Regions from separate parts of the Homo sapiens genome. Here regions 1, 2, 4, 5, 6 and 7 are each linked to region 3. The links are contacts of gene promoters, found by promoter capture Hi-C in blood cells and fetal thymus (Javierre and others, 2016). All regions are on one chromosome and are shown on one strand. The core of a region is centred on a gene start or on the middle of the fragment in contact, and the rest is flanking DNA. Distances in the headings are between cores, read along the strand shown.

What was found. The method cuts DNA at HindIII sites, captures the fragments that hold promoters and counts their contacts. A CHiCAGO score of 5 or more calls a contact.
Region 1: a fragment that was not itself captured here is called in contact with the fragment with the promoter of SMARCAD1 in region 3 in 1 of 17 cell types (total CD4 T cells); the score reaches 5.5 in total CD4 T cells.
Region 2: the fragment with the promoter of PPM1K here is called in contact with the fragment with the promoter of SMARCAD1 in region 3 in 2 of 17 cell types (monocytes and total B cells); the score reaches 6.0 in monocytes.
Region 4: a contact is called between a fragment that was not itself captured here and the fragment with the promoter of SMARCAD1 in region 3, in 1 of 17 cell types (total CD4 T cells). The highest score is 5.5, in total CD4 T cells.
Region 5: a fragment that was not itself captured here is called in contact with the fragment with the promoter of SMARCAD1 in region 3 in 1 of 17 cell types (total B cells); the score reaches 6.0 in total B cells.
Region 6: a fragment that was not itself captured here is called in contact with the fragment with the promoter of SMARCAD1 in region 3 in 2 of 17 cell types (non-activated CD4 T cells and total CD4 T cells); the score reaches 6.1 in non-activated CD4 T cells.
Region 7: a fragment that was not itself captured here is called in contact with the fragment with the promoter of SMARCAD1 in region 3 in 1 of 17 cell types (total B cells); the score reaches 6.1 in total B cells.

The regions. Positions count from the first base shown.
Region 1 is chr4:99,818,588-99,822,104 of GRCh38, forward strand. The region is part of intron 1 of DAPP1 (dual adaptor of phosphotyrosine and 3-phosphoinositides 1); the gene reads left to right. Among named protein-coding and RNA genes, the nearest start is that of DAPP1, 3.5 kb to the left of the region's middle. RefSeq lists an enhancer at 3,460-3,517. The HindIII fragment of the contact is 5,274 bases long and covers 1-3,517 here.
Region 2 is chr4:88,283,134-88,286,398 of GRCh38, forward strand. PPM1K (protein phosphatase, Mg2+/Mn2+ dependent 1K) reads right to left here and starts at 1,428. Exons shown (of 7, transcript NM_152542.5): 1 at 1,273-1,428. It overlaps PPM1K-DT (PPM1K divergent transcript), which reads left to right and starts at 1,797. Exons shown (of 5, transcript NR_134238.1): 1 at 1,797-1,928. RefSeq lists enhancers at 1,211-1,270, 1,311-1,400, 1,313-1,836 and a silencer at 1,571-1,790. The HindIII fragment of the contact is 7,670 bases long and covers 1-3,265 here.
Region 3 is chr4:94,205,966-94,209,461 of GRCh38, forward strand. SMARCAD1 (SNF2 related chromatin remodeling ATPase with DExD box 1) reads left to right here and starts at 1,900. Exons shown (of 24, transcript NM_020159.5): 1 at 1,900-2,105; 2 at 2,381-2,619. The coding sequence starts at 2,430. It overlaps SMARCAD1-DT (SMARCAD1 divergent transcript), which reads right to left and starts at 1,591. Exons shown (of 9, transcript NR_125922.1): 1 at 1,565-1,591. RefSeq lists enhancers at 1,519-1,878, 1,977-2,480. The HindIII fragment of the contact is 2,630 bases long and covers 1,341-3,496 here.
Region 4 is chr4:99,905,527-99,908,889 of GRCh38, forward strand. It overlaps DNAJB14 (DnaJ heat shock protein family (Hsp40) member B14), which reads right to left. Exons shown (of 8, transcript NM_001031723.4): 4 at 3,185-3,363; 5 at 991-1,085; 6 at 71-180. Among named protein-coding and RNA genes, the nearest start is that of LAMTOR3, 13 kb to the left of the region's middle. The HindIII fragment of the contact is 9,420 bases long and covers 1-3,363 here.
Region 5 is chr4:99,575,503-99,578,949 of GRCh38, forward strand. All of the region lies in intron 1 of MTTP (microsomal triglyceride transfer protein), which reads left to right. Among named protein-coding and RNA genes, the nearest start is that of MTTP, 2.4 kb to the left of the region's middle. The HindIII fragment of the contact is 154 bases long and covers 1,346-1,499 here.
Region 6 is chr4:99,950,854-99,954,093 of GRCh38, forward strand. All of the region lies in intron 1 of H2AZ1-DT (H2AZ1 divergent transcript), which reads left to right. Among named protein-coding and RNA genes, the nearest start is that of H2AZ1-DT, 2.0 kb to the left of the region's middle. RefSeq lists a silencer at 1-12. The HindIII fragment of the contact is 441 bases long and covers 1,221-1,661 here.
Region 7 is chr4:99,856,914-99,860,074 of GRCh38, forward strand. All of the region lies in intron 4 of DAPP1 (dual adaptor of phosphotyrosine and 3-phosphoinositides 1), which reads left to right. Among named protein-coding and RNA genes, the nearest start is that of LAMTOR3, 36 kb to the right of the region's middle. The HindIII fragment of the contact is 590 bases long and covers 1,236-1,825 here.

The DNA of each region.
Region 1 (3,517 bases), core at 232-2,731, 5.6 Mb after region 3:
GCAACTACAGGTGAAACCCACGGGTGGAATAGGACTGTGTCTTTCCTCCATGTGCAAAGAATAGACATTGAATACAAAACTGAGTCACACCACTTCCCTGCAAAAAAAAAAGGGTACATTCATGGCCAGATTTCCCTATTTCAGAAGGCGTGAACAATTAATAAACATGAGGATGATTTCTATAGCAATGGGCAACCTGCAGTTATCTGGGAAAACTGCTCTACAGTCCTGGTTCTTGACCTTGGCTGTGCTCTGGAACATCTTGACACCCAAACCACAGACTTGACAAATGATTTCAGTATCTCTGGGGATGGGTGTTTTCTTGTCAAACTCTCCAAGTAATTCCAAAGTGAGACCCTAGGTTGATGATCACTGCATAGAATATGTATCTACCAAATGCATTAGGTAAATGTGGTCTTGTTTTTCATTTTAAGTCTGTTGGGTGTGTACTTGAATCTTAAAATTACTAATAAATGTTGATATTTTGTTTGTTGGTTTAGGGGCATTTCGATTAGCAACTTTATTGAGGTTATTTTACATATCATAAAATATACCCGTTTCAAGTGTACAATTCAATACTTTTGACTAACTTTACAGAGTGATACAACCATCACCATAAATCAGTTTTAGGACATTTCTGTTCTCCCAAAAAGAACCCTCAGATGTATGGCTTATTTAAGCATACTCAACAGTGTGCTGGAAAAACAGCTGGGAAGAGTTGGGGTGTGGAGAAAGCCCTGATTTCAAGAATTTGCCTAATTCCCTGGTATAAATACTCCCACTATAGACAATTTCAAGCTGCCAACAATTTAACATCATCGAATTGAATATTTAATAATCAACTTGTGCCAGTACTTGCTCCTGCAGCACCTCACTGATACATTTTTTATAGATAACAATTTGAGAACTCTTGACAATGACTTGTTGCCTCTGCCAGAATACTGAACATAACTCGAACATTATAATGACTTTTTCTTTGAACCTTTAACCACTGGCGAGATAGAATCTCTACCAAACCTTCTGATTAATTTAGTTTCCAAAGACCTCCTTAAAAACAAAATGATTTAATGTAATGGATAGATAAAAGGTAGCTGGTTTTAATGACTTAATTTTTCAATTATTTTTAAGAGGTTATTTGAGTAGTTAGATAAATCCTTACGTTTATGTTTTTGATAGACATAAACAGATAAGTTAGTGGTTAAATTACAGAAATAGCAGAAGTCTTTGTTCTTGGGCCTCTGTTTTTTTCAGGCTCTGGAATATGTAAATCCTGTAAATTGAGCCCTGAACTGCAGCAAATCCATCACTTGCCTTTCCAGGACATATACAACTTGCTCAGAGTACAGGTTTATTATTTTCTAAAATACCTAAATCAAGCAACACAGTGCTTTTCCATGTCTCATTTATAGAGTGTCAGCCTAAAATCATTAATTTTCTTTCATCTAAAATACATTAATGTGTCCAGAAGCAAAGGAGAAATAAAACCATCTTAAATTGTTGCTCAGCTTCGCTTACACTTCTCAGGGGAGGGTATGGGCTTAGGGGGAAGAGAGGTGTGGGGAGGGCAAGAAGTGAGGGTGTGGAGAATCAGGGGAGAGGAAGGAGGTGGACCATGAACGAGGAGATGGGTCAGGCTGTTTGCTGCTTGCAAAATGAAAATATGGCAAAATAAAACAAGTAACAAATACTGGAGATATCACCTAAGTAACAAACTGGTAAAGAATAGCTAGTTAAATTACTGAAAATTCCAGCAATTCTTTGGCTTTAACAAAGGTTACTATACTATTTCTACATATAGCTATATATATGTATAAACACAAAAGAAATAACAAAATGAAAGTGTTTTAGCATACTTTAAAATTAAATATTCAAATGATCTAGTCAGTTGTAACTCCAAGTGAGAAACATAATAAACGTTCTCTTTTTTAAATACTTTCTCAAATCGAAAGTTGTATAAGAAAGTGCCAGTGTTTGGCTGGATTGGCCAGTGCCAAAGAACTAGATTCCAAGCTCTGAATATTTAAATAAATTGATAACTAATTAGTCACATATAAGAGAAGTTTAGAGTAGACCATGGAGCAGCAAACCTTTTTTTTATAAAGGGCCGGGTAACGAATGTTTTAGGCTTTGCAGGCCTTACAGTCTCTACCTCAACTACTCACATCTGCTGTTGTGCAAAAACTACCAGAGAACACAGAAACAAATGACCGTGATGGTGTTCAAACAAAACGTTATTTATACACTGAAATGTGAATTTCATATAATTTTTATGAATATTTTTCTATTTCCCTCAAGCATTTCAAAATGTACAGCCATTCTTGGCTCCCAGTCCATACTAAAACAGGTGTCTGACAGGAATTAACCCTCAGCTGGTGGTTTGCTGACCCACGGAATAAATGATAATAAACAAAATGAGTCCGTATTATAAGGCAGGCATTTTGTAGACACCAGCTCTGGTCTTTGAAAGGCACTGGTATTCCAGCTTTACACAGGAAGAGACTCAAGAGCAGAAAAATCAGGTTGCCTACAGTCTCTGAGTGTCTGTGTTCAAAACCCATGCTGACTTCACAAACCAGGTTGTTTCCCTGCTGTGATAGTCCTAATTTACTGACCACCTACTATGCATCAGCACCATACCATTCACACGCATAATGCCATTTAGGCTTCACAATAACACTTTCAATACGATATCACCATACTCATTTCATAGACGCAAAAGGTGACTTCAATAAGCTAAGTATACGATCCAGGTCACAGACTTTGTAAGTAGTGGAGCTGAGAGACACACCTAGGAACTTACCCCAGAGCTTTCCACTGCATGGTGCTGCTTTGTAGAGCCCACTGGTCAAAGGTATGTATTCTAGTAATGGCAATTAGTAATTATTGGATGCTTATCATGTGCTAAGCACTAGTTTAAGCCCTTTGCCCATGTGAACTTGTTTAATTTACACATTGCTGTGAGGTGGGTATTATTACTAATGTTGTCCCCATTTATAGATGAGAAAAGTAAAGAACAGAGTTTTAATCACATGCTTAAGTTTCCATTCTAACATACCTTCAAATCCAAGAGTTTTGCTCCAGAGCCTTCATGCTTGACTGCTGATGTAACCTCCTGGTTTTCATCAAATTTCTCTCATCTTACTATACTAGTACATGTTCATAGTTCTTAATATGAACTGAGAGAAGCAAAGAAAGTTCTGTGATTATAACAAAGTTTACTATAAAAGACATTATTCTTTCTATTCCTCACATAATATACATGCACATGTACACAAAGCCAGGCCAGCATTCTAGTTAATCAGAACATTATTGAATTTTGTGTAGAATTCATTTTCAGGACTAGAAAAATTTATTCAGCTAAGAAACGTAAAGTCAAAATTTCAGTGGAACCTGTTTACAGCGGTGTGACACTAACTACAGCAATACAGCTTGTTCCTCTTCTGTGCACAGCTCTGTAATCTTGGATTCTAAAAACGGAAGGTGGTTCTTCTGTGGTTGTATAATTAGTATGTAACTA
Region 2 (3,265 bases), core at 178-2,677, 5.9 Mb before region 3:
AGACAGGGTCTTGCTCTGTCGCCCAGGCTGGAGTGCAGTGGTGCGATCTCGGCTCACTGCAGCCTCGACCACTCAGGATCAAGAGATCCTCCCACCTCAGCCTCCGGGGCTGGGACCACAGGCACATGCCACCACGCCCGGGTAATTTTTGTATGTTTTGTAGAGCCGAGGTTTCGATGTGTTGCCCAGGCTGGTCTCGAACTCCTGGGCTCAAGCCCGCTTTGGCCTTCCAAAGTGCTGTGATCACAGGCGTGAGCCATTGCTACCGGTCTCATTGCTCTTTTTCATCGTCATTGTAATCTGTCACTTTAGTCGCTCATTCTGAAACCGAAGGACAGCCTCATTCCTCCGCCCTGACGGAAAGAACCGATGAGGCCTTGCTGCACGTTAGCAGTGGGAGGCTCAGAAAAGCCCGTGGAGCTTTTGAGACTGCAAATTCCCTGGCTATTTCCACCTGGAGCCTCTTTGTCACATCCGGTGAATTCCCTCATCTACAGAAAGCGGCTGCTGAAAAAGACATCACCAGCTACAACGCCTTGAGTACTACAGCGCTCCCTGCGCAAAGTAAAACCCAAGTCTTCGGATCAAAACCAGCCGGGGCTGTGCATCCTTCACGATGCCGGACCTCCTGAAAAGCTCACCTGGGTACAGCTCAGGATCCTGGCCTCGGCTCGCTGGCCCTGACAGGCGGGTGGTCAGGGTGACACACGGTGGGAAGAACACACGCCCGCCTGCCTGCGAAGCCTCGCAAATAGCTGGGCTCCCTCGGCACCTTCTGCCGCCAGGTCTCCGCCTCCCAACCTCCCTCTGGGCGTACCGAGCCCGTTGTCGCCACGTTTCCCTCGCCCGGGAGGCAACGCGGCACCCACCCCGCAGCATCCTCGCTTCCGGGGCCTCGGGCAAGGGTCTCCAGTCCCAGCCCACCCACCCTGCCCGCCTCGCGCCGCGCTGGCCCTCCAGCCTGCGGCCACATTCAAGGCCGAGCGCAGTCTGGGCTGGAAACCCGCCGCCCGGGGCGCAGGCAGCCCAGCTGGGCCCCGCCTCACCCCGACGAGCTGCTCACGACCTCCAAAGGGAAGAAAGCGACGCTCTGAGAACTCCGAGAGGCCGCCGGCCAAGCGCCGACTCGGGGGGCGGGGGAACGGAAACCGACGTCTCCCCTTCGACCTCCCGGGAAACCCTTCTCCGTTTACTCTCCATTCCGCGACCGCCAATAAAGAACAGCATACATGGTTAGCAGAAATAAATGAATTGCACTCTCTAGGCTCTTACCTCTGGATGGCTACGTCCCTGAAAAATGTTTTAATTAGCTAACGGAGGACGGGGGAGGAGCTTTCTTGGTCGGTAAATAAGAGTGCCTTCTCCGTCGTCTCGGATCTCCGAAGCAAGCAGTCAAAGCGGCCACTGCCTTGCCTGCTGGAAATTCTCGAAAATTTTTCTCCCGCAGTTGACCAGATGGAGAGGGAGAAGTCTGTTCCCGCTGACTGACAGCAGATCCGGCCAGTCCGCACTCGGCGAGACGGCTGGCCGGCCGCCCGGGCCCTCGATCGCAGCCAGTCACAGATGCCGATGGGAACGAGCCTCCCCGCGGCTGCTATTTGACTTCGCAGGCTTCCAGCTGCGCGGCGGAGCGACGTCACCCTGTGCCAGTGGTGGCTCGCGGCGGCGCCCCGCCCTCCCGAGGTTAGCTCCCCAGCCAAAGAGGGGGCGCGCTTGCGCGGTGGGTGGGGCCGCGAGACTTGGTACCTAGCCAGCGGGCGGAGCGCGGAGGGGGTTTCGCTTCGGGCTAAGGGACTGTAGTTGTGACAGCCAGGAAACCGAGAACGGAATGCCAATACTGCTTAGGCTTAGAGTTTGAAAGGCATCTGATTTCACTGCCATGTCTTTGAACAGCAGTGCACAGTGCAGTCTTCTTCGTGGCTGAACAGGTATCTTGTGATCTTTAGGGAATGTCTATTAATTCATTAAACAAGTATTTCTGTGTTTATTGAAGGACGTCTTGTATGCTATACATTTGCTAGGCACTGGGGATACGCCCCTAACACAGCTAGACACGATAGCTGCCCTCATAGAATTTTCAGTCTAACAAAGAAGAGGGAGAAAACCAACAAGTAAGCAAGCACATAGAATAGTAATTAATCATGTCAAGGAAAGAAATAGGCATGGTGTGGACACTGGAGGATAACTTCAGATAAGATTGTTATATGAGAACTTTATAAGATGGCATTTAAACCATCAGTCATTCAGCCATGGAACCAATAAAATGATGAATTGTTTTGGGCAGAGGGGACAGCAGACAAAGGTCTCTCGGTGAGACAGCCCGGCGTTTTGGAAGAACAGAAAGAAAGCCAAAGTGTCTCCAGCATATTGAGGGAGGGAAAGAACAGCATGATGTGAGAGAGATGAGGCAGACAGGGGCTTGGAGTTGGCATTACATTTTAAATTTAATGGGCTTCTATTGAGGCATTCGAAAAAAAGAAGTGAAAGGGTCTGGGTTTAGACTTTACATCACTTTGGTTAGTGTGCAAAGAACAGTTAAAATAAGCTATTGGGAAACTGATTAGGAGATGATGACAGATGAAATTTAAGGTGGAAGATGACTTTGATTAAACTATGACAATATCACTGAAGGGAGAGAAGAGCAGAGAGATTAGAGATTTTAAAGATAAATAATTAACTTGATTTGGCATTTTAGTTATTCTAGGCCAGGGACAACTGTTTTGAATCCAGTGCATTTAATAACCAGGTTAGAGAGTGACTCTCATATTGACGGCTCACAAATTATAGTAATAACCTTGAGTAATATTATGTTGAGTTGATGTCTTTTCATAGACTTCCTGGATTTTTTTTTCTTTTGTCTTTCTTTCTTTTTTTTTTTTTTTTTTTTTTTTTTTTGAGACAGGGTTTTACTCCTGCCCAGGCTGGAGTGCAGTGGCGCTATCTGAGCTCACTGAAACCTCTGCTTCCCAGGCTCAAGTGATCCTCCCACTTCAGCCTCCCAAGTAGCTGTGACTACAGGCACGCTCAACCATACACAGCTAATGTTTATATTTTTTGTAGAGATGGGGCTTCCCCATGTTGCCCAGGCTGGTCTTGAACTCCTGAACTCAAGCAATCCACCCACCTCAGCCTCCCAAAGTGCTGGGATTACAGGCATGAGCCACTGTACCTGGCGTGGAATTTAAAAAAATAATAATTTTATTGAAACATGTGTCTTAAAAAGTGCACATATCCTAAGTGTAGACAGCTCAATGAATTTTCACAG
Region 3 (3,496 bases), core at 650-3,149:
TTTTTGTATTTTTAGTTGAGACGGGGTTTCACCGTGTTGGCCAGGATGGTCTCGATCTCCTGACCTCATGATCCGCCCGCCTCCACCTCCCAAAGTGCTGGGATTACAGGCGTGAGCCACTGCGCCCGGCCAGGAGTATATATTCTTAAGCTAACATTTCCATCAAGATAGGTGAATTATATGCAAAAGAAAGGAAATCAGTGTATCGAAATGATATCTGCATTCTCATGTTTGTTGCAGCACTATTCACAACAGCCAAGATTTGGAAGCAACTTAAGTGTCCATTAACAGGTGAATGAATAAGAAAAATGTGGTGCATATACACAGTGGAGTATTATTTCGCCATTAAAAAAAATGAGATCCTGTCATTTGCAACATGGATGGAACTGGAGGTCATTATATTAAAGGAAATAAGGCAGGCACAGAAAAAAAACTTGGTATGTTCTCATTTATTATATTTGTGGGAGCTAAAAAATTAAAACAATTGAACGTATGAGAAACGGTAGAACGATGGCTACCAGAGGCTGGGAAGGGTAGTGTGGGGCGGGGGAGGACCCCGGTGGTCGGTGAGCATGGTTAATGGGTACGAAAATACAGTTTGAATGAATAAGATCTAGTATTTGATAGCACAATAGCATGACTACAGTCAACAACAATTTATTGTACTTTTTTTTTTGAGACAAGAGTCTTGCTTTGTTGCCCAGGGTGGAGTGCAGTGGAGTGATCTCGGCTAACTGCAACCTCCGCATCCCAGGTTCAAGCTATTCTCCTGCCTCAGCCTCCCGATTAGCTGAGATTACAGGCGCCCGCCACTACGCCCGGCTAATTTTTTGTATATTTAGCAGAGACGGAGTTTCACCATGTTGGCTAGGCTGGTCTCAAACTCCTGACCTTGTGATTCACCTGCCTCAGCCCCCCAAAGTGCTGGGATTACAGGCGTGAGCCACCACTCCCAGCTTATTGTACATTTTTAAATGACTAAAATAACTGGATTGTTTGAAACACAAAGGATAAATGCTTGTTATGGATACCCCACTTACCCTGATATGATTATTACACATTGCATGCCTGTATCAAAATATCTCATGTACCCTATAAATATGTACACCTACTATGTACCCGCAAACATTAAAAATTAAAATATTTTTAAAAAATTAATTAATTAATCAAATTCCATTCTAAGAACAATCAAGCCGAAAGTGAGGAATTACTTTAAATGCTTTGAAGCTCAGCATCCCGGGGTTCTTATCCGTCACTAATTACCTATACATTTGCAGGTCTCAGTTTCTTTGCTTTGTAAACATAGGCTTCTTGTAAGGATTGGGATTATACACTGAAAAAGCTTAGCACAGTATTATTACTATTATGCTATCTACATTATATTATAGGTGAAACACTACAGATTATAATACATACAATATATACTAATTGTATTATATATTGTTATTTTTTGTCATTATGCTATTTACTATTGTTCTATTTAATAACTCTCTAGATAATTTAACAGGACAAAGGTACAGAACAATCTGGCCCTTACAAGCCGGCGGAGACGGGTACGAATTACCATGACAACAGCGCGCGCCTCGACATTGTCGGCTCGCGCGTTGTTTGGGAAGAAAAAGCCTAGGCTGCGTGTTGCGTCATCATTACGCGCTCTTAAGGTTTCTCCGTGGTGTTTTGGAAGGTCCCGGCACGGCTACCGTCGCCCCACGCTAGGAAATTTTTTTTTTATTTTCAACCTTTGTTACATAGCACTGAGGCTACAAGATCGTAAGTACTGAGGGAAGAAAGAACAAGCGAGCGATTGAACGTTAAAAAGATGCCTTAGCATGCACTCCACCTCTGAACCTTCCTGTGTGTTCTTAATCCTATCAGCTTCCTCTCAGCTGGGATCGCGCCGCGTCAACTTCCGGGCGGATGCCCGCCAGCACGGCCTCCGCCGCTCCCCTTCTTTGGCCCCTTTGTGTCCCCGCAGTGTCGAGGCGCGGGCCCTGGCAGGTCCTTTCTCGAGGCAGGGGGCACGGTAGCACAGGGAGCTTCTCTTTGTGGGCGGGCGCGAGGCCCGCTAGGGGGTTATACTGGGGAACGTGCCTGCGCGTGCTTGGGTAAGAGGAGGTTGCATGAGGGTCAGCTCGTGGTTTCAGTAAGGAGGGGCGGGCGGGGGAGGCGGACGAAGGGGAGTGAAAAGCAATGGAAAATTTTAAAAGATACCCCCGTCCACCTTCTAATTGTTGCGGCCTAACAATGAAGCGCAGCCATAACAGTCCTGAGCCACTGGCATGTTTGCGGGCCCTTTATTGCCTTGGGAATAAACTGCTGTGGCATTGTATCGTATATTGTTTTCATGGCCTTTTTTCCTCTCTTTATTTTTCCCCTGCAGATAGTTCATTTAAAGCCCCCATCCCTGCAAGGTGGTGCTTTCTACCAATATGAATCTTTTCAACCTGGACCGTTTTCGCTTTGAGAAAAGGAATAAGATTGAGGAAGCGCCCGAAGCAACCCCTCAACCTTCCCAGCCTGGCCCTTCTTCACCAATTTCTCTTAGTGCTGAAGAGGAGAATGCTGAAGGGGAAGTTAGCAGGGCAAACACTCCTGATTCAGATATAACTGAAAAAACAGGTGAGTTACAATGTTAAAATTGATGTAACATCAAGGACAGTTTTTAAAAGATGAAAGGCAGAAGGGATTCTCATTTTTATTCTTGATGTCATATATATTGATGCATTGTCCTGCGGTGTGCCCTTTTAAATACAGCTTTGGGACTGCCATAAGCACCATGTACCCTCAACTGAGCATCCATCCATTGTCGCCTCACTTTTATATGAGTTCTTCGAATATGGCCCCATGGTGGAAGTTGAAATTAGAATTTAGGGCATCCATAGGTCAGAACGGTTGCTATTGGAAGAGCGATGTCAGTGATTCAGTCCTATGATAAACTTTGAGGCTATTTGGGCAGACATTTTCATTCATTCCAGTATTCCCTCAAAATATTGATCATCTACTGTGAGCTAGACATTGAGCAAGGTGCCTAAAGACAACCTCTGTACACAAGGGAAGATCAGATCACATCAAGTTCTTGCATCCACCTGACTTCCTGGATGTCCTCAGAATGCAAATGAGTAATTGGTATTCTTCATGGTGAATGAACATTTTTAACCTCATCAGCAGATTGTCAGAGACAAAAGTATTTGAGGATAAGCCAAAAATTAAGATTTCCACTCGAATCTATGTTCATTGAACAGTTAACTATTAGAGGAATATATTTGAGCTCTTGTTGTATTATAGGAATAGTGATAAGTGCTTCACCTTCTGTCATTTAATTTGCACAATAATCCTACAAGGTAGATATTACTGACATAGAGGTTAATGTGAAATGAGATTCAGAGAGGTTATTAGGAACTTGGTAGAGCCTGAACTCAAGTCCTGGCAGTATGATTCCTGAGCATAAACTAATTAGTTAGTTTCTTAGGAAAGGTGAAAGGAATGTTGGAAGTTA
Region 4 (3,363 bases), core at 389-2,888, 5.7 Mb after region 3:
GCTCTTTAAAGGAAGCTAGGTCAGAAATAGCAACAATTCATTTTTTGTAAAACTTCACTTGGCTACTTACGATCTGGGATATAAGGAATAAGGAGGATTAGAGACCATCAACTGGCTTAATAATGACACGAGGATCAATACAATTATGGGCATCAGCTGGATAAACACAGAAAAACCTCCCTATAAAAAATGATCAAAGAATAACAAATTGTAATATAACTGTAGTTGTTAATAATACAACAGTTGTCATACATTTTGAGGCAGAAAGCGCATTTGAGATCATCTAGTTCAGTGCTTTCAAATCTGCGTAACCATGCCAATAGGATGATTCTTAAATATAATTATCCAGGCATATCACCAGGAGATTCTGATTTGAAAAACACTGATAAAATTTGATTTCATTTTATAGATGAGGAAGTCTTCATTTCTTTCTCTTTCTCTTTCCCGACTCCCTCCCCCCCACACACAGAGACGCTATCAATATGCTGCAGGCTGTAAAACCATTTTTTACCTTGGATTTGAGGGTAGAAGATGGGAGCTGATGAGTGGCAAAGCTGGGGGCCAGGCCTTTTAATTTCTAGTCTAGTGCTCTTTCCATTTACCTTTCCACTTCATGTAATTAAATTGCTATAGGCAATTAGGTATAACTGCATTAGAACAAGGAAAGTTACCTCCAATTCAAGTTTTTCAGTACTCTAAATTCTTCAGGGCCAACAATAACAAGTTACCTTCACAACATGCATAGTGCAGGTGTACCTTCATTAGAATCATAGAATAACAAATCTAAAGGGGTCATACTATCCAACCACCCCTGGCTGACCTCTCTTCCTATTCCTACAATGTCCCTAAGGATTTTCTAGTCTCTACCAAACACCTCTAGTAAGAGAAAACTCATTATTTCCTACAACTACTTGCCCTCTTTTCAGACAACTCTAATTACTTTTCCTGAGCTGAAATTTGCCATTTTGTGATTTCTAGTCATAAACGTACATCTCCTCTTTCCTCTTCTCTTTCATGTCCACTATGTCGATGCTGATGTTGTTGGCTATAACCAGCTCTTCCATTTGAAAAAGAATGTACACTACCTAAAAAATTAAAAGCAAGGTTAAATTAGGGAGAGCAATTATGATCAGAAAAAATACATTTTCTTTCACATTTTTCTTTAATTTTAAAAAATTACTAAAATAATGCATGTGTATTTTCAGTAGTAAATACTTATTGCCCTCTCCTCTTGTAAGTGAAGGGTGGACAGAAATAGGAATGATTCTTCCCAATCTGCTTCCGTTACAGGTAGAAGTTCCTTCTTTATGAAAACTTGACTAAGAGTTTCTCTACACACATAGAGGTTTTTATAAACCTCTTTTGTTTATGATTAGTTGTGATTAGTTGTTTTTATAAATGTTGGATTATTACTTTGAAACTTTGCTTTTTGCATTTATCAATGAATCATAAACATCTCTAGAAATCAAAAGATAGTGTTCAAATTCATTTTTAAAAAATAGCCCTATAATATATCTTGGTATAGATGGACCAGAATTTATTCAAACACTCTCTTGCTGATAAACATTCAAGTTGTTTTCATATAAGATGACCAATCAGAAATGGCTACCATTGACAAACTATGTTATAACTAGCAAAATAACTGCAAATCAAGTATCAGAAGAAAATTTACTACTGCCTGAAAGATTTCTGATTGTTCCTAGTATACTTCCAGTCAAAATTACTAGTTTTAATAATTTTTCTGTAATTATGTATTCTAACATGTCAAAACACAGGTTATATTTTCAGTCATTAATTTGCATTTATATATCCTCTTTCCTTCAAGGATGCTTTGCAAAACGTCCTATCAATGACCACAACCTTGCCAGGCATGGTGGCTCACCTCTGTAATCCCAGCACAGGATTTGGGAGGCTAAGGTGGGAGGATTGCTTGAGGCTGGGAGTTCAAGACCAGCCTGGACAACATAGCAAGACCCTGTCTCTACAAAAAAGTTTTAAAAAAATTAGCCAGACATGTGGTACATGTCAGTAGTACCAGCAACTTGGGAGGCTGAGATGGGAGGATTGGTAGAGCCTAGGATTTTGAGGCTGCACTGAGCTATGATTGCCCCAGTGTACTCCAGCCTGGGCAACAGAGCAAGACCCTGTCTCTATTAAAAAATAGAAAGAAATGACCACAACCTTTCTCAATAATATTCAGAGAGGGCCACCAGGTCCAATTATACTGCTACATTCATGAAGATTCTCTTAATGTTGAATGGGATTTACTTCAGCACCTGAAGTAAATTTTGTAAACAAGACTAAAGCTATAATTTTAAGTACCTTAGAGGAGCTACATTCAAGGAAAATAGATTTCCACAATAACAACTCACAGTACAGTAAGTCCTCACTTAACGTCATCAAGAGGTCCTTGGAAACTGCAACTTCAAGTAAACATGATGTACTATATGCCTTAGCAATTTAACTGTTGTTTATATCAATTAGCCTGCGGTAAAATTAGTTGTTATACAGAACATTGTTTCACTTACAGTCACAGTTTCCAAAAACCTTATGTTAAGTGACCACTTACTGTAAATGTAAGTGGAGTTTGATACTATTTATGTTGGTACTATAAAATCTTAGTATCACTACAATATTTCACTTTGATAGTCTAGTTAAAGTTAGCTATTTCTATTTTAATGTAAACTTAAAAATCCACTTACTTTGTATATAACCTATGAATCAGATTTTCTACTGTTTAAATGGAAATAGAGATGAGTACCTCTACATATATCCAAATTAGCCAACTATAATGTTATTGATAAAATATTTACAAAGATCTCTAGGGAAGCAATGTCAAATAGTTATCCAGGTTTAAGTAAAGAAAACCATTCATAATTATAATAGTACTTACCTAAGACATTGCCATTACATTTCCTGCTTACATTCCCTTTCAGCTTTATATAAAATACAGAATATCTGTACTCTTCATTTTTTTAAATTAAAATATGTTCTAGGAAAAAGGCAGGCTATTATAAAAGTAATAACCCTAATATTTTTCTCCTGCTTTCATGAAAAACCATTACAGGATCGTAACACTACAAGAAATGTAGGGGAAAAGGTAGATACATCTCTAAATAACGTTAACTGGAGGTAAGACTATGTAGCTTCATAAAATATAATATCTATAATTACATTAAAATACCTGAAGGAAATCCACCCCCAAAAAATATATTAAACAAGTCTTCTGGAGTTATATCAGCTTCACAACCTCTATGGAAATTAAATCTGCCATTGTTTTGGTGGTTACATGCTTGTTCTTCATTGCCCGTGAGGTCATACTGTTTTCGCTTTTCTGGATTACTTAAAACAGCATAAGCATTT
Region 5 (3,447 bases), core at 173-2,672, 5.4 Mb after region 3:
CATAGTGAATTAAAGAAAATTAAATTTCCTGATACAGATTTAAGAAATAAGACATTATCTTTGGAAAAATAATGTTGCTACTTACAGTTTCTATTTTAAGATGAAATTAATTTTAAAAATACATATGAATTAATACCATTGAAAAGGCAAGTGAAAAAACATTTTATGAGGAATGGTTTCATAAAACTGTTGTGAAGTGTATTAATATAGAATCATGTTTCAGATCAGCTACATTATAAACATCGGTTTTCCAAATGCTGCATTGTGTAAAATGATCACTTTTTAGTTTCTTAGGAAGACACACTGTTAAAAACCAATTGATATAACAACATAGCGTTATAGGGACCAATTTTAAAACCATGTACTCTAAGTAATTGATAGAAAACAATTCACTTATAAACTTATAAAACCTGTTAGGGATAAATGTGGCTTTTGATATTAAAGTAAAGTTTGCCTCAGGATTTTTTGTGTAGAAAATTTCCACATGAGGAAAAAAACCTAATCTTCATTATTGGAGCAATAGAGGGTTAAATTTAAACCAATTCACCTCAGCAAATCACACTGTAGGTTCTTGAACTAAAGAAAATATTTTCACCAATTTCTAAATATTTACTATTTAAACATACAGTTCTTACTTGGACAAAAGAAATTTTTTAATGAGAAGAAGATTTATAAATTATATCTGACTGAGAGTGTTATATAGAGGACTTACTATTTCATCTGCCAAATAAACTGTTGAGTAGTCAAAATATGTGTGATTTAAATACCATAGTATCAAACCTAATACCATAAGTATTTTGAGAAAAATAATTGAGACATGGTACTTATCATGAGCTTCTCCTGTTTTCCCATTTTATAAACTAGAACATTGGGTGACCTCATGTTTTCAAATATACTTATAAAAAATTTAAGGCCGGGCGTGGTGGCTCACGCCTGTAATCCCAGCACTTTGGGAGGCCGAGGCGGGCGGATCACGAGGTCAGGAGATCGAGACCATCCCGGCTAAAACGGTGAAACCCCGTCTCTACTAAAAATACAAAAAATTAGCCGGGCGTAGTGGCGGGCGCCTGTAGTCCCAGCTACTTGGGAGGCTGCGGCAGGAGAATGGCGTGAACCCGGGAGGCGGAGCTTGCAGTGAGCCGAGATCCCGCCACTGCACTCCAGCCTGGGCGACAGAGCGAGACTCCGTCTCAAAAAAAAAAAAAAAAAAAAAAAATTTAAATATACACATACACTAGACAATGGCATAATTGGGAAATGGCATAAATGAGAAAATGTGGTTTAGAATATTATAGGTAGCTACAGTTTATTGTAAACAAGCTTAGTAGTAAATCTAGATTTTTAAAGCTTGAAACATATATAATTTAGGGGCCACTTTTGAGAAAAGATTACAAAAATATCTTACTATTGCAAAGGTTACTGAAAAAGATATGGCATGTGGATACATTGCTAGGGTCCACTTCTGGAGTCTTTGGAAGGATCCTGGGCAAGAGAGCTTAAGCTTCATCAGCATCATGGTACGTTGCTTATGCTGATATCATAAATTAAAAGTGTACAACTTGAGAGCTTCTTTACCTAGATGGAATAACTTTTTGCATTATGGTACCATGATTTAATTATAGATTCTTTGCCCTTGTAACAACTGACATTAATTAGCAAACAACTTGTGAAGAGTTTACCTTAAAATCAGTCCATTTAAAATTTGGGGATCCCATGCCTCATTGCCTCAAAACTCATCTCTAAATTACCAATGCAACTGTTTGGTAAATCCTCAGATCTGGGTGGATGTTGAAGGGCAGGTTAGAATCTAAAGAAAATTGAGGCTGGGTGTGGTGGCTCATGCCTGTAATCCCAGCGCTTTGGGAGGCCAAGGTGGGTAGATCACTTGAGGTTGGGAGTTCGAGACCAGTCTGACCAACGTGGAGAAACCCCATCTCTGCTAAAAACACAAAATTAGCCAGGCATGGTAGCGCATGCCTGTAATCCCAGCTACTCAGGAGGCTGAGGCAGGAGAATTGCGTGAAACTGGGAGGTGGAGGTTGCAGTGAGCTGAGATCACACCATTGCACTCCAGCCTGGGCAATAAGAGCGAAACTCTGTTTCAAAAAAAAAAAAAAAAAGAAAGAAAAGAAAGAAAGGAAGGAAGAAAAGAAAAAGGAAAATTGAATGGCAGATTGGAATCTGAAGAGGGTATTAGGATTAGGATAAAAGAGCACATCTATATGATTTGCTGTGTGAACTTTCTAAAGACTCAAGTTTTCCCTACTTTTTCTTAATTATACTTTGTCATGGTTGGACTATTTTCAGCGCCTTCTCTGTGTTTTCCTTATATAGTATTTTTACCTTCTATTTAATTTTGTCACCTTTAAACCTGTACACTTCCTTCATTTCCAGTCTTTCTCTCAATCCCTCACCCCACCCTTACTTTTTAGTCAATTTTTATTAATCATCTTCCAGTTCTTTTTTCTTCTTACCCTTCATCTTCTTTTTTAACTTCTGACCCTTTAGTTTTCTGTTGGGTTCATAAATGCCATTACCTATCACCCTTATCATCACTGCATGTCTCTTCAAACCTCACCAATAACTCAGCTCTGCTTTGTCTTCTTGACTAAGCCAGTTATCAGTGATTGTACTCATATAAATCTGACAAAGGAGTATTTAAAAAATATTTCTTGAAGATTCAAAACTAACAGTTTTGTTGCTTTTAAGTCACTTAAAAATTCTAAATGCACTTGAAGGGCAAATGAAAGAGATTCTGACTTTTTTGGCTAATATTACTTTCTGTTTTGGTTTTATCTAACAACAGTTATCAAAAAATATTACTATACATACTCTGAAGAGCACTATCCTACAAAAGGAATTAAGTCAACAATATAAATGGGACATGCCCCAATGCCCAGTGTTGCCAGATCTCTGCAAAGCATAAACAGAGAAATACTTATCAAAAAGGAAAGTATAAGAGGATGACACTCTAGCACAGTCCACCTTATTTGAACCGTTTTAGGCTTTATCTCCTGTTGAAAGAGGTAGGAAACAGTTTGGAGGAATAAAGGGCCCATTCTTTTCTGTGCTTTAACATTTCCTACTCATAGTCAAAAATTGATTTATTATATGGCCAGTAAAGTAGAGGTAAGAAAAGAAGTGAATAACATAATAGTTTGGAAAGCTTTGGAATTTAAGAAAGGTTACCTTCCTACAAATGTTTCGTAGTTATTTTAACCAGAGGACACCTTAATATAGTCCACAGAACTTGGATTTTGGTAAATTTAAACATCAAATCTGCATTATATTTGCTATGTTGGGTTGAACTTGGGGTCAGCTTCTATCTGCTGTCACACAATGCTTACTTTTCAGAATTGCTCTGAGGATTAGATAAGACAACATGTATTTCCTTTATGCCCTATGTGGAATTTGATAGGTGTCATAAAAAGAAGGCCTCCTGACCGA
Region 6 (3,240 bases), core at 191-2,690, 5.7 Mb after region 3:
TGAGGTTTGCCCTGACGCCTTCCACAGCCTTAGTAGAGATTCCGTGTTTCTTCCGTCTAGGCGAGTCCCCAGCCACCAACAGATCACGACCCGCTGCTCCCACTTTATTTTCAGCCGGGTCTTCCACCTCTCCCTCACTACTTATGAAATCCTCCACGGAATAGTTCTGTGACAGCAAACGGTGAAGCCAAGTCACCTCACTGGTCACGAAACCCTTTTTGTCTATACTTAGGGAGCTTCTGGCGAGGCAGTATTCTTTAATCAAATCATAAACCATATTTTTTGGAGACTACACATCAATGGGTTGTACCTGTAGCCTGGTGTGTAAAGCTCATTTAGTGAAACCTCAGAGCTATTATGTGTCAACTTTTCTACAGTAAGTATTTTGCCACATGACAAATGTTCGGCAAATGTCGATGGAGTAACTCTGACATGATTTTCAGGCAGTTAGAGGGTCCATGCAATGCAATCAGTTGCAAATGATGAGGTTAAAGTAATGGTACTGTACACACAGTACTATCCTTCCAACTAGTAGGTTATTAACACCTATGTACATCTCCAGCTGCTTGGGGACAGTAGTGTCTCAATCTCATTTGCAGTGTTTTAGTGTATTACATTTTTTAACATAATTGAATAGTTTCAATGTGACGAACATTTTGAAACATATACTCTATGCTGGGCATGGTGGCTCACACCTGTAATCCCAGCACTTTGGGAGGCCGAAGCGGGCAGATTACGAGGTCAGGAGTTCAAGACCAGCCTGGCCAACATGGTGACACCCCATCTCTACTAAAAATACAAAAATTAGCCAGGCATGGTGGCGCCCGCCTGTAATCCCAGCTACTCTGGAGGCTGAGGCAGGAGAATTGCTTGAACCCGGGAGGCGGCGGTTGTGGTGAGTCAAGATTGCGCCACTGCACTCAGCCTGGGGAACAGAGCGAGACTTTCTCAACAACAACAACAACAAACATATACTCTGAAGTACTTTAGATTGGGTTTCAATTTGAAAGATTTTATCGAATTAGAGGACCTCCCAATTTCTGTGAGATAAATTCTAGAGAAGAGCTTCCCAACAATTTTGACATTGAGGTTTATTATTTCTTGGAACCAAGGAACTCTTATGATGTCGTCGATAGCAAGACTTCAGCCGTTTTCCTACTGATAATATAATAATGATATATTAAGCTATGAAACCTGATAGTTAACGATGGCTCCAGGGAAGCTTTGTGATATATAAAAAACCAACATTAATGCCATCTCTAGTTTAGATAATACTCTGCCAGCTCTTTGCTATGAAGCCCCATAAAGGGAATTTACTGTTGCCTCGCTGAATAGTGGTTAGGAGGATGAACTCAGAAGCAAGTACAGATGGATTCTGTTCTGCCTCCTCCTCACTGTGTCATCTTAGTTACTAATCTTTCTGAGCTTCGAGTTCCTATTCTGTGAAAAGATAGTATCATCTATTTTCACATGGTTGAAAGATTAAGGAAAAAGGTATGCAATGTACATAGTAGCATGTGTTTGGCACGTAGTTAGCCCTCAGTAAATAACTGCTATTATTTTCTACATTGGATGCTGGAGAGGGATGAAATAAAGTATCTTTTATTTCTAAATCTTTTTTGCTATTTGGTTTATTTTCTTTCTTCGATTTGGAAGCAGCAAGCTTGAAACCTGCCCAAAGTATACACAACCAAGTCTTCCAACATCCAAACTAAAATCCAAAATTGGTTTAATAACTCAATAATTTTCCTTCAGAGAACAGGACAGTATTACTTTCTGCACTTTTCTCAGAGTGGTATGATGATTTCCTACTCTTTTTCCTGCCCCCCCCAGAAAAGGTATGATGCAAATATGTTAATATTGTTGGTTTATCTTTCCAGTTCCTGTGTTAATAGTAATGCATGTATATAATGTACTTAGCCAGAGCTATGTAATTACTTTTGTTTAATGCCATACCCAATTAGTTCTCTCACCATAAAAAAATATGAGATGCCAAGGCAAGAGGATCACTTCAGCCCAGGTGTTAAAGACCAGGCTGGGCAACATAGCGAGACCCCATCTCTACTAAAAATACAAAAATTAGCAAGGCATGGTGGCCCCTGCCTGTGGTCCCATCTACTCGGGAGGCTGAGGTGGAAGGACCACTTGAGCCCATGGTTGCAGTGAGCCATGATTGTGCCACTGAATTCCAGCCTGTGTGATAAACTGAGATCCTGTCTCGAAAAAACAACAAAAAATCCTCAGATGAGGTAGGCGAACCCACTATTATTGACACTTTCCTTAATAGCCTTTTCCTAACTAAGCCAGATTTTCCATGACTAGTTGCTATCTCCTTTGAAACACTAGCATGTATGTTAACTACTATTGTTCTTGTCTTTTTATGTAGAGAATTTGAGAGTCTTACAATTGGGAATTATAAATTTCTCAACTACATCTTGCCTTAAAAACGTATTTTTAAGAAAATATGAATAAGTTCTCAAGTTATTTCCAAGGATATTAGCCTAGATCGATAATGGCGGCAAAATTCTTTTCATCAGGAAATCTACATTAGAATCTTGGTTCTCTCTACCTAGGGCACCTAGGAAAAATATGTGCCTTCAAGGATTCACACAGCTGTGAATAACTGAGTTCCAGTGTGGTATTATGCAAAATATTGAACTAGAGTAAAAGAATGAGGGTTGAGTTTGGGTAGCCACTTACTTGCTATATGGCCTGAAGTATGTAAAACACTGAGGCACAGTTTCATTTATTAAATAGGGATTCGTAACACCAGATAAACCAACTTGATAGAATTGTGAAAGAGTTTCGTTAAGTGCGAAGAATATGTAGAGTGATGTAATAATATTTTTGGCACCGAGGCCATAGTCCTTCCTGAATTCTGTTTAGGTTGAGAAGCCTATGTGTTTAATTCAGTGTTGATAAAACCAAAGCCATCGATTTAAATTCCAAATTGCCCAGCTTTGCACTTCTCATGATCACAGATTGCACACAGGTAACAATTCACAAATGCAGGGAATAGATGACAAAGATCAGCAGAATCTACTCCACCCAGATCCACTGCCATTTCAGGAAAACAAAAGATCATGCTTTTAATATAGCACTAATTTACTTTTTCCATACATTAGTCCTCAGAATTTTTGGAAATTTATTGTTTTAAAATTAAAAAATCAAGATTCTTATCATATCCTTTTATTATCTATTATTGATATCAATATCGATCTTTAGGATTTTCAGGGCAGG
Region 7 (3,161 bases), core at 281-2,780, 5.7 Mb after region 3:
TCTTTTCTAATGATCAGTAGACATGTCTTTTGTTCTGAAGGGAAATATTTCTTTATTCCAAGGCTGCTTGTATAAGCATACTTTAAATATCAGTCTGCAGCAAAGAACTGTTAATGCCTTGCTCATAAGACATTTGGAACCTTGACAAGAGACCCGTGGAGATTATTTCCCAACAGTGATCAGGGGCTAACTATTCTTCAAAGAGTGGTAGAGAATTATCTTGCCCAAAATCTCAGTAGTACCTTTTGTACATAACATGAGAATTCTTTACCTTCTGAGCTTGTTTAAAAAAATTCTTGCAGATGGATTGAATGTGATACACGAAAGAAAGAGTAGCAGAGTCATGGCAGAGAAGCCCTGCTATTTACTGAGAAGGCTAACTCTGCAGGAGGGGTGGGTTGAGGGGATGAGAAAGAAGAGCTCTATTTTGGACATGTTAAATGAGAAATACCAATTAGTTGTCTTGGTAGAGATTGAGATTAATATAGTTCAAGTTCCTGACATAATAGGTCCTATCTAAAATGTTAGTTTCCTTAGCTTCCCTTTTGTGGTATTTGACGTTTTTAACAACTCCCTCCTTCTAAAAATTCTGTTTCCTTAGCTTTGGCAACATCTTTCTGTCTTTATTCCGTAATCTTTGACACATTTTATAGTTCCTCTTCTTGGATACTTTCCTTGCACGTTGCCCTTTTCCAGTATTTTGTTTTTGAAACTCTTCTCAGGTTTAACATTTTGTTGCTTATCCTTTCAGTCTTTTACTTGAAAAAAAAAAGTATATGTATGTATATACACACACACACACACACACACACACACACACACATAAAATAATGAGCTCTTCATTGTAGAGTTGTAATATTCTTGTTTAATTAACTATATATTTAAAATTTTTTTCATGTAATTACTTAGTTTTCTGGAACACCATTAAACAAATTCCATAATATTCCATTATTTGAGTATATCAATTTATTCAGTTAATCCACTATTATGTTTTAACATGCTTTTTTATTTGAAATAATGTCAAAGTTACAGAATAATTGCTAGAATAGTACACAGAACTTGGTTTTCCCCAAGTCGTTTGATAGTAAATTGCCTACATGATGCCCCATCACCCTGAATATTTCAGTGTGTATTTCCAAAAATAAGGGCATTTGCCTGCGTGACCAGATAGAGCCTTCCAAACTAGAAAATTAACATTGAGGCTGTGCCACTGTTTCATCCACAGATCTCATTCAAGCTTCACTAGTTTTCTCAGTAAGTTCCGTCAGAGTAAAAGATCCAGTCCTCAAGCACAAGTTGCACTTATCTGTCCTGTCTCTGGAAGATTCTTCACTTTGGAACACTTCCTCAGTTTTTCCTTAATTTCGTGACTTTGACACATCTGAAATTAAAGACCAGTTATTTTGTAAATAGTTTCCCAACTTTGGTTTATATGATATTGAATCATGATTAGATACAGGTTTTTTCATGTTGGCTACAAATACCACAAAAGTGATGCTTTGTTTGTGCTTCTCACTGTGTCTTCTCAGATGGAACACAATTGCAATCTGTCTCATAATGGTGTGTTTGATTACTTAAGTGGTGTCTGCCAGGTTTCTTCACTCTAAAGTCACCATATTCCCTTTGTTATTAAAAAATGTTTGGGGTGAGGTTATTTGAGACTATAAGAATATTCTGTTACTTATTAAATTTTTACTTGCCAATTTTAGCATTTACTGATGTGTCTTGGCTGTTTTAATCATTACTATGATTGTTACCAAACGATGACTCTCTGATTTTCTTATTCCTTTTTACATTCATTGGTTGTCATTCTACTGTAAGGAAAAGCTTTTTATTCTTCAAAATTTTCAATCATTTTTATATCAAATGGTTATAATCATGACTATCATTATTTATTTTGATCCTTCAAAATTTCCCTGATTTGGCCAGTCGGGGAAAGAGCCCTTTCAAGTGGTGTCTGTGTTCATATGACCTCAAAAAAAATTTTTTTTTTTTGGAGACAGTGTGTCACTCCGTCACTCTGTCTCCCAAGCTGGAGTGCAGTGGTGTGATCACGGCTCATGAAGCCTCGACCTCCTGGGTTCAGGTGACTCTCCCTCCTCAGCCTCCTGAGTAGCAGGGACTACAGGTGTGTACCACCACTCCTGGCTAATATTTGTATTTTCATTTTTTTATTTTTTTTTGTAGAGTCAAGGTTTCACCATTTTAACCAGGCTGGTATCGAACTCCTGGGTGCAAGCAATGCTCATGCTTCAGCCTCCCAAAGTGCTGGGATTATAGTTGTGAGCCTCCGTGCCTGGCCTGGCCTCAAAATTCTTTTAAGAACTTTCTTACTTTCTGAATAGCAAGATGATCCAGACTTATCTTGTTCTTTCTTTGTACCCAGCTCTAGAACCAGCTATTTCTCCAAGAAACTCTGCTCTTTTTCCACAGAATAGTACTCTAGAAATCGACATCTAGGTACTATGTGCTTATTGTTATCAGGATGTCACTCTCCCAGCCCACTCAGTGAGCAGAGCTGGGAAAATATGTATGTATATACATATGTACACATATATACTTTTACATCTGTATTTATCTGTCGATTCATTCATCGATCCATGAGTTCACAACAATGCTTCCAATACCACAAAGTTCATTCTAGTGTTTTCCCTTCTCCCACAGTGAGAAAATATGGATCTTATCATCCTCAGTACACTTATGTGGTGATCAATTGAATATAAGCAATCTCCCATTGCTGTTTCTACTACTCAACCCTTACCCCGACACTCCAACCACCCAGTCATGCTTCAATGCTCAGTTCCAGGCCACTGCTGCTCCCACCCTCACTACAGATGTCCACCTAGCCCAACTTGGCTCTGAAACTGTGCAGTAGCTGCCACCTCCACCCCTTCAGGCAGAAGCCCTCCACACCCTGCCAGGCTTCAATGCCTCGCACACAGCTGCTGCTGCCACTGTCACTGCCAGTGTCCACACAGAGGCTCCCTGTGCCCTACTTGGGCTCCACCACCCTGTACTAAGGTGCTTGAAAGCCCTCCACACACACATCAATGCCTGCCTTGCTTCACCTGAACTGTGTTGGCTACTGACTTCATTTAAGGCTGGCAGGCAAGTAGGTAGTAGGATGGCAGGAAGGACAGTCCTTTGTTTTTGAACATTTA